2 separate regions of the Homo sapiens genome follow, and region 1 is linked to region 2. Evidence: promoter capture Hi-C in 16 types of primary human blood cells and fetal thymus (Javierre and others, 2016). All regions are on one chromosome and are shown on one strand. The core of a region is centred on a gene start or on the middle of the fragment in contact, and the rest is flanking DNA. Distances in the headings are between cores, read along the strand shown.

Region 1 (4,558 bases), core at 522-3,021, 110 kb before region 2:
ACAATCTCGGCTCAGTGCAACCTCTGCCTCCCGGGCTCGAGCGATCCTCCCATCCCAGCCTTCCAAGTAGCTGGGACCATAGGCACACATCACCACGCCCAGTTAATTTTTCGTAGAGACAGGGTCTCCCTACGTTACCCTGGCTTGTGATTTTGTTTTTTAAGCTGTAAGTTCACACTCTTTAGAAATTCTTTGAGGCCTGGATTGAAGGTGTATTCACCCTGAGTGAATTTGCCTTTTGTTTTGATGGATAACTAAGGCATTAACAACCTTGGATCCTGCTCAGGTTAATTTCTGGGCTTGAGGTTTCTTCTCCCACAAAGATAATATAAATTTAGGCTACAAGCTTGGTTAGATGCCAACTTCTGCTTATGAGTCTAGAAAAAAATTATCCCCCTCTGTCCAGTATTTAGGGTCTAGATTGAGAACTTCTTTGCTCTCCCTTGTGTGGAATAGATTTTTTGTAATTTACAGTGATTCTAACTCACAGCATATAGTCCTTGGAAAATCCTAGGTCTGTTCAGGAGTTTGGTTTTAGACTTTCCAGTCTGGATGAGGCCCACACACAGCCTCCAGTGCTTTGTGCCCACGTCTCCGTCAAGGGGAAAGTTCAGGATCCTCAGGTTAGCTAAATGTTTCTAGTGAGAAAGCTAGCTTCAGAGTTTACTTACTGGCCTGGTATCTTTACTTGACTGTAATACTCTAAGGATATTTCTTTCTTATCACTTAAATCATGAATTTTATTTTAATGTTCTCTTTTTAAATACAACTTCTTTTATGCCTTTATTTTTCTTCATTTTTTATTATATTTTCAATAATGCAGAAAAGGTGAAGGAATACAACCAGAAATTTAGCACCTAGATTCATCAATTGTTAGCATTCTAAAAACAAAGACGTTCTCTTTTATAACAATGCCATAGCACGTCTTAGACAATTAGTAACAATTCTCTAATATTTTCTGTAATACCTAATCCATATCAGATTTTCCCACTTGTTCCTAGGTATCTTTTTTGCATATTTTTCCCCAAATGAGGGTACAAACAATGTACTGATGCATTTAGAAGATATTTGTCAGTGCGTCTATCTGGGTTGTTGGGGTCACCATATTGTCCAATATGGAGATGTATTTTATTGTTTGGCATTTTCCTGAAGTCTGCTTATGAGTTTTTTTTTTTTTTTGAAATGGAGTCTTACTCTACTGCCCAGGCAGGAGTGCCATGGCGCTATCTCGGCTCACTGCAACCTCTGCCTCCCGGGTTCAAGCGATTCTCCTGCCTCAGCCTCCTGAGTAGCTGGGATTGCAGGTGTGCACCATCACGCTTGGCTAATTTTGTATTTTTAGTAGAGACGGGGTTTCACCATGTTGGCCAGGCTGGTCTTGAACTGCTGACCTCATGACCTGCCCCTGTTGGCCTCCCAAAGTGCTGGGATTACAAGTGTGAGCCACCGTGCCCGGCCTTGAGTTTGTTTTTCACATTAGTCCAGAGTGCTCCATCTTTCGCTCTCTATTCGGTTTCCTTGTGAGTTATTGACTGTTAGAGTATACAATAGAAAAAATATTTTTATGTCCCTTTTAAGGAATTATACCTTTCAAGTGGAAGATACACACTGACTTTCCTCCAAATAGTTACACATTTTAGATTTTTGTCGTGTCAGTGGACTCATCTCAGGCAGGATTACACCCCAGGGCTTCCTTTAAAAAAGGAAAGTGACATTGGCTTTACGTAACAGAAGCAGTTTGGACATTTCTTTGGACAGTTGAGTTCCGCTGGCCCCTTTCTGTGGCATGCTGCTGCTCAGCCCAGCTGCATGAAGACAGGACAGAGAACGATGGCCACTGAGAGTGATCCAAAGTACTCTGTGGGAGAAGGCAGATGGATAAATATTTTTTCTTAAATGCAAAGCTAACTTAATGTTACTGCCCATTACTGGTAACTTTCTTTAGGGCTTAAGACTTGAAGAATTTAATGTTGCCTGACAAAGTTTTAAGATGGCTCAGCATTAAAAAAAAATGGTGTCTTTGAACAGTAATGAGCGCCAAGTAAGAAATATGGGTGTGCTGACTCTTTTTGATGATCTCAAAGTTATTTATTTAACTACATGCATGAAGCCCCAGCGTGTGTGTGTTTTTCTTTGTCACTGACTTCACAGCAGCTCAGTAGGATTTTAAATATGTATATTTTATATTTTCCTGCACCTGCCCCATGACAATATACATAGACCATGCAAACAAAGATGTATTTAGTGAAGAGATTGCGAAACTGTTTTATTACTGTCCGGATCTCCATTGGAAGTGAAGCTGCTGTTTCACATCCTCTTTAGGCATATCTAGCCGCCAGCAACTGTGCAGATTAGAATCATGAGCTTCTCTTCCACATGCGTGTGGCCATTGTGGTGATGACCGATGAATCATCGCATTTCAACTGGAATGAACAAAAATAGAAAGCTCAGCAGCAGCATTTTTTAGAGAGGTAAAAATCTGCATAAATAAAGAAAATTAAGTGTTTCCATGAATTTTACCTACTAGAAAGTGGAAAAATGTATTTGATAATAGAGCATATATATAAGTTTTATAGTACTGCTAACATAAACATGAGTGGATAATTTTGGGGCTCAGCAAGTTTAGCTGCAAAATGGCTTTGCTATTCTCCATTCCTCTTTGTTTTAATGATCATTCCTCCATATTCAGAAGATTCTGTTTCTTGATTTTTAGGACTGTTCCTAAATATTCCGGTAGCTGTCTTTGGAAGACTGAAAAAATATTTTCTCTTGTCCTTATAGAAAATGCTGGATAGGGCAGAACCTTCTCTCTTCCTGAAAGAGGCCACTGATCTAAATTGGTTTCTCTCTTAGCCTTACTTCTTGGAGGCATACTTATTATGTATTTACTTACTTTGGCATGCTATTTTAAAAATTCCTTGGTTTTTATTTTAAACAATTCCTTCATATATTTCACTTAAATAAATGAGCTGATACTATGAGCTTCAACATATTGGTTTCAAAACTCATCTCTTTGTCTTTTTTCCTTTGTTTTACCTCATATACAGTTAATTGACAGTTCTGTTCATTTTTCCTTTGAGATATCTTGCCATGCTTGGTTTACCATTCCAGCACAGAGTACACAACTCATAGCTGGATTGCTATGACATTTGTCTCCTCTTTGGTTATCTTGCATTCTTTTACCAAATAAAGCTTTCACAAATGTATTATCTCCCTACCATTTTGTGACCTGGGATGTGAAATCTAATCTCTGACTGGATTTCTAGACTCCTCTCTTGTCTTTTTCAACCTTATCATCCACAACTTGCCATTGTAAAGACCAAGTTCCAGTGTTCCATTAGATCAATACCACCATTTCTGTAAACAAACAGATGCAAACATTAAGAACCACAGTCTGGCTAATTCTGGAACAGTACCTAAAATATTAAACCATGACCATCTTTTGCCTGTTGGTGTTAGAAGGGAGCTTTTGGTGTTACGAGAGAGTCACCAAAGAGGACAGGTTATGGAAGCTAGCTCTGCAGAGCTCTTGATAGCAGGAGTTCACAGAGATTATAAACTAGGAAATTCAAGGTGCTTCAGAAAGGTTCTTCTTGAAGGAAGAGAAAGAACTGTGTTCAATGAGAGAAAGCAGCAGAAAAGCACACTAAGTTCGTTCTTTATAGGCAAGTTTAAAACTGGGATTTACTCAATGGCCGATGGCCATTACAGATGCTAAGATATTCTCAGGGACCATGAGAAGATCATCATGCTGAAGTGAGAATGGAGCCAGGGAGGGGAGCATCAGAGTGGGACTGGTTTTGACCTTTGAACAGGGCCACTGTCCTGGCGTGGAAGTGCAGTAGACAGGGCAGGTTGGGTGAACAAACCAGGTAGCTGAGTGTTCCCCTGCCCTTGTTCTAGCAAACTTGGGTGTGCAGGGCCTGAGAATGTTCTGTTGACTTCTGCTGCTCTGTTTTGCTCATGTTATTCCTTTGCAATGGGTGCCTTTCTCCTATCCATTTTCTCAAAGATCATATGTGCTATAATGGTGGAAACACGGACTTAGGAGATAACCTGACTCAAAACTCACTGGAGTTTTGTCTTCTTGCGGATGAGCTGGACCCTAGCCAATGTACTTCACCATTCCAAATCTTCAGTTTCCTCCTTTGATAATGCAGGTATTAACATACATGCTGCTGTGTAAGCATTGGAAAGTCTGGCCCTTGGTGTTTGGGTTTAGAAAAGTGCTTTTGTCAGCATCCATAGTCACAGGTAACTGACAAAAAGAGCATGTGATATCCTGTGTATCTGTGTCGACATCATATGAGATTGAGGAAGGTTGAAAGAATACTAATTTCCCTTGACAGAATTCTTTTAATTTTATTCATTTCTCTGCATCCTTCACTCTTTAGTTTATCTGATGGTAGAGGGTTAGCAGTTGTAGACAGTGTCATCACCTGCCCTGGATGATACTAGAGCTCCTTTTGTAGACAGACTATATATTCTGACACCAGAGAAATGCTGTACCTGAAGGCCCCATATCTTCTGGAAGGACACTGAAGGGAGAGCAAGTTAC
Region 2 (4,557 bases), core at 692-3,191:
GCGCTCAGAGGGAAAGAGTTAAGCTGTTGACCCCAAAGGGAGAGAGAGCCAGCAGAGATCTGTGCTTGGGAGTGGCTGGAACAAGCAGCCGAGACACACAGTGTAAGAGAGCTGCTGAATAAAATTGTATTTCACCTACCCGTAGCCCCCTGAGTGTTCTTTCAGCTGTCTGCCATTCATCTACCCACTCCCTTCCGGCCTCAGCATGGGCTGGAACCTGACCCTGGACCTAACAATGGGGATCTTAGGGACTTAAGAGATCATCTAAATGAACTCTTTACAGATGAAGAGACTGAATCCCCAATGGTTAAATGACTTGTCTAAGTCCACACATCTAGTTAGACGCTGAGCCAAGACAGAACCTGATTTCTGGTTTCTAGATGTGCACCCCTTACTCAGTGGCATGTACTGTAATTCACAGTTTCCATTCACTTGTTGCCAAGGTCTGCCACTTCCGAGAGTTTCACAGTTTTGGTGTAAGTGTACATTGCCAAATGAGAAATAGCTTGGAAATATAACTGAAGAGACATTATCTGTTGTGACTGCAGCTGAAGCACCAACTTTTAACCAGTATTAGCACTGCTTATTTCAGCTCCTATCCTTATCTCAAATAATTCTGCCTTCCTATAACACATGATGGGGACCCCTGGGAGCCGCCAAAAAGGACACTTACTCTGAGGTCTTGCCCAGGTCTCTGCTTCTTCCTCCTTGTTCCCAGATGGCAAACGGACATCCTCATAGTAAGACTGGGCTGCTTTCCACCTGCGCAGCCCCATGGTAAGCACCTGCAGCTCCAGAGGGAATTTATTTTAGTAAAACAAACAAACCTGGAGACCAGGAGATCAATTATCAGTAGTTTGGTAATAATTGAAAACTAGGTCAGAGGCTTCTATTCCTTTTTCCATGAGAGCTGGATATGTGAGGTTGTTCTTGATGAAAGCTGAATTTTTAAATGCAGGTTAATGGCTTTCTTGGAAGCCAGCAAGCAATTAAGGTTTTCTCATCCATGCAGAAATTACAGCTGCAGGGGGCAATTTTTAAAAATTCCTTTGGATTCTTAGAACATACTATATTTATTTATTTTCCCTTAAATTCTGACCTTAAGCTTAAAAATAAGTTTGTTAATACTAACGTTGTTTTCCCTTGAGCTAGCTTTGAACCTCAAATGAATTGCAAACTGCGAAGTGACTGCTGTAGGGCTACTCTTCAGTAAGCTGGTCCAGTTATATGGTAATGAATCCATTTATAAAAAAAATTGTATGTGAGCTGTTTCCAAGGCTATTATAGTATTTCTTTATCAGACTATACATAATTTTACGTTTGTAACATGGTACAGTTCCAACTGAATAGGCAGTAATTTTCTTTATTAGAGTTGCATTTTAGAGTGGTTCATTCATCAGATTTTTATCAAATATATTCTTCGTGTCATTCATTGTGATAGGTTCTGGAATATGATTAAGAAATGGTCCCTGAACTCCAGGGGCTCACAGTCTAGGAAGAAAAAAGACAAATAAAATTATACCAATATAATGAATGCAGTTCCATGGCATATGAAGAGTGTTATAGAAACACAGAGCAAAGATGTAACCCTACCTAGTGTCAAAGAAGACTACACAGAAGATGGTGCATTAGAAGGAAGAGAAAGAATTGGCTGCACCAACAGGAGGAGGGGAAAGGACCTTCTGAGAAAGAGAAGAGTGTGTGCAAAGCAGTGGAGGCCTCAGGGAGGATGGTGGTCTGCTAATACTGAGTTTAGTGTGGTTGTCTTTGTCTTACGTTGCTTGCAGGGAATAAAGCTAGTATTTGCTTTGCTAGCTGGACTGAGCTGGGCTATACTAAGTTGTCTGACCTTTATCCCGTACACAACAGGAACTACAGGAGGTTTTCAAGAAAGGGAGTGAAGTCAGATTCATAGTTGAGAAAAACATTCTAGTAACTAAGTGGTGAATAGAATGAAGAATGGGAGCACTGATTGGAAAGCATTTATAATAGACGGTGGAGGGCAAGTTTTAGGAAGCAGGCAGTGATTGTGATGTCAGAATCAATTTGTATGATATTTAAATAGTCCACCCGGAACTCAGTAAAGCAAAGATTGTTGAAGAGGGTGAGCTTGAGAGACTGGATGGATGTTGATAACATTAATTGTGTGAGGGTGTGATCTCTTTGCTGAGATTTTAAGTACGGTAATTTTCTGATGTGATACCTGTATTCATAGCGTAACCTGTGACCCTATTTGGATAGCCCTTATGCCTCTGTATTATGATTGTCAGTCACTTCCCTGAACTATAAACTTCTTGAGGTCAGAGATAAGTTTTAGTGGTTCTTGTTCCACAGCCTCTGACACAGGGCTTAGTTATGTAATAGGTGCTTGGTAGATTTTGGATGTTTAGACGTGGATGCATCAGCCATCTACTTAAGAATTCCTCTTTCGAATTCTTCCTTTGCACAAGAAGACCTTTGTTTCTTAACCCAAAGAAGACGAGCTCTGTAAGTCCGTTATAATTTTCATTTTATGGCCAAGTTTCTCTGGACTTTCATTTTCCAGAAACTACCTATCTTAGATTTTGCTCTTTCCTTAGTGACAACTCAGTAAAGTTCCTATTGTTCAGAGATTACATGATGAAGTAGATATATACATGTGTGTTTTTTCTTCTTTAAGTTTGGCTATTTGAACCTGTGGCTCTGTGGTGTAAACAGTAATTCCTTTCCAGATTTATTTATTTGGAAGTTTTTGGGTCTTTAAAAATTACTCCTGTGTTTCTGGTCTTGAGTTAAATCCACTTATAATTGCCCTAGGGGTTCCCATGGCATCAGCACAGCTGGAGGTCTGGTGGGCTTTTGTAAATGGCATTTGGAAGAGTGATTCATTTGCCAAAGCATTAGCAATCTTTTGTATTGTTTCCATGTGGTTTTTGTCTAAAGAGACAAGTGCTGGGATTTTATTTATTTAATAAACTTTGTTTGAATGAGCTAATTTCCCCACTGTCCAGAATTACTAAGGGAAGACCTGAGCATTTATTTCAAGGACTTATTCTATCCATTCCTTGCTTCAGTGGGGAGCAGTCACTTCTGTAGCCACCAACTACCTGATAGTCTAGTCTTTTCTGTGATTAAATTATAAAAATAATCTCTTTGTGAACTTGTCTGCTTTTGGTATAAGGTCGCATATTTAAAGAGCAATCTGTGATGAGATATGTTGGCTTCATTTTCTGTTTGTTTTCTAAAGAAAGGAAAAATAGATACATTTCCATTTCAAAATTCTTTTTTTTTTTCTTTTTTTGCGATGGAATCTTGCTCTGTCACCCAGGCTGGAGTGCAGTGGCGCAATCTCGGCTCACTGCAAGCTCCGCCTCCCAGGTTCACACCATTCTCCTGCCTCAACCTCCCGAGTAGCTGGGACTACAGGCGCCTGCCACCACGCCTGGCTAATTTTTTGTATTTTTAGTAGAGACGGGGTTTCACCGTGGTCTCGATCTCCTGACCTTGTGATCCGCCCGCCTCAGCCTCCCAAAGTGCTGGGATTACAGGCGTGAGCCACCGTGCCCGGCCTTCAAAATTCTTTTTAAGAGCCTATTATATGCCCAACTCTTGTATTACTTTCTCTTTTTTCACGTTCACACCAACCCTACTTGAGAGCTGTTTTTCTCCTCACTTTGCTGTTGAGAACAGTGTTTCGGAGAGTTTAAGGAATCTATACAAGTCCCTTAGTAGTTCATATCAGAGGTTGTTTTACACCCAGGTTTTCTGTCATAAGACAGAAGCTTTGAAACTGCCTCCATTGTCCCCATGGCTCCACATAGGCCAGAGGGCTTCCAGATGCTGATAACATTGATGAAGAGGGAAGGTCAGAGACTAGACCTCAGTTGGAAGCTGTGGCAGTTGTGCTGTGAAAACCCACCAGAGGGAAGAGACGTTTCAATTCTTCTTTCATAACCACGGAAATCCTAAGTGACTTGTGGCACCTCGGTATATTAGGACTTCTCATTTCAGAAAGTTAATGGTCTTCTCTCCTCTCTGTCAGTGTGATGTATGTAACCACTGATTAGCTGACTCATTTGTTCAGTTGGCAGATACAGAGGCGATCAGTTTACTCGCCTTGCTGTTTAAAAATCATGATAATTTTGCACTCCCTTTGAGAAATGGGTAAGTTCAGAAATCAGTTTTGGGACTATCTTTATTTAACTAAGGCATAAGTGACTGCACCTTCAGCAAATTTAATTCCTGGCTTCAGACTGCAGTAATCTTAAATGAGACATTTTGTTGTATGCTTATAACCTCAGGGATTTTATCTGCTGCCGTCGTGGTCTTTTGAGGAGGATTCTCCTGTTGCAAAGGATGTCTACAATGTAATGAATGGCAAGAAGTATCAGGAGTATTTTGAGTGCTTAAACCCATCCGAGGTTTATTAATTTTCCGGATATGGGTTAACATGGTTCCATGAATAGGCACAAGGCCTAGAGAGTAGGATTAGGAAGGTTTCCAGGGATTCTGAACTCATGTCAAGCAAAACTGGCATGCTGGGCAGCTAAGTCAACTGAATAGGGAAAAGACTTTGAA

Evidence for each region. Contacts are between HindIII fragments. The CHiCAGO score rates a contact against its expected background, and 5 or more counts as called.
Region 1: a contact is called between a fragment that was not itself captured here and the fragment with the promoter of SMYD3-AS1 in region 2, in 1 of 17 cell types (megakaryocytes). The highest score is 6.1, in megakaryocytes.

Annotation. Positions count from the first base shown.
Region 1 is chr1:246,212,908-246,217,465 of GRCh38, reverse strand. The region is part of intron 5 of SMYD3 (SET and MYND domain containing 3); the gene reads left to right. Among named protein-coding and RNA genes, the nearest start is that of SMYD3-AS1, 110 kb to the right of the region's middle. The HindIII fragment of the contact is 2,846 bases long and covers 349-3,194 here.
Region 2 is chr1:246,106,010-246,110,566 of GRCh38, reverse strand. SMYD3-AS1 (SMYD3 antisense RNA 1) reads right to left here and starts at 1,941. Exons shown (of 4, transcript NR_183265.1): 1 at 1,850-1,941; 2 at 674-785. All of the region lies in intron 5 of SMYD3 (SET and MYND domain containing 3), which reads left to right. RefSeq lists enhancers at 1-14, 15-516. The HindIII fragment of the contact is 2,656 bases long and covers 1,108-3,763 here.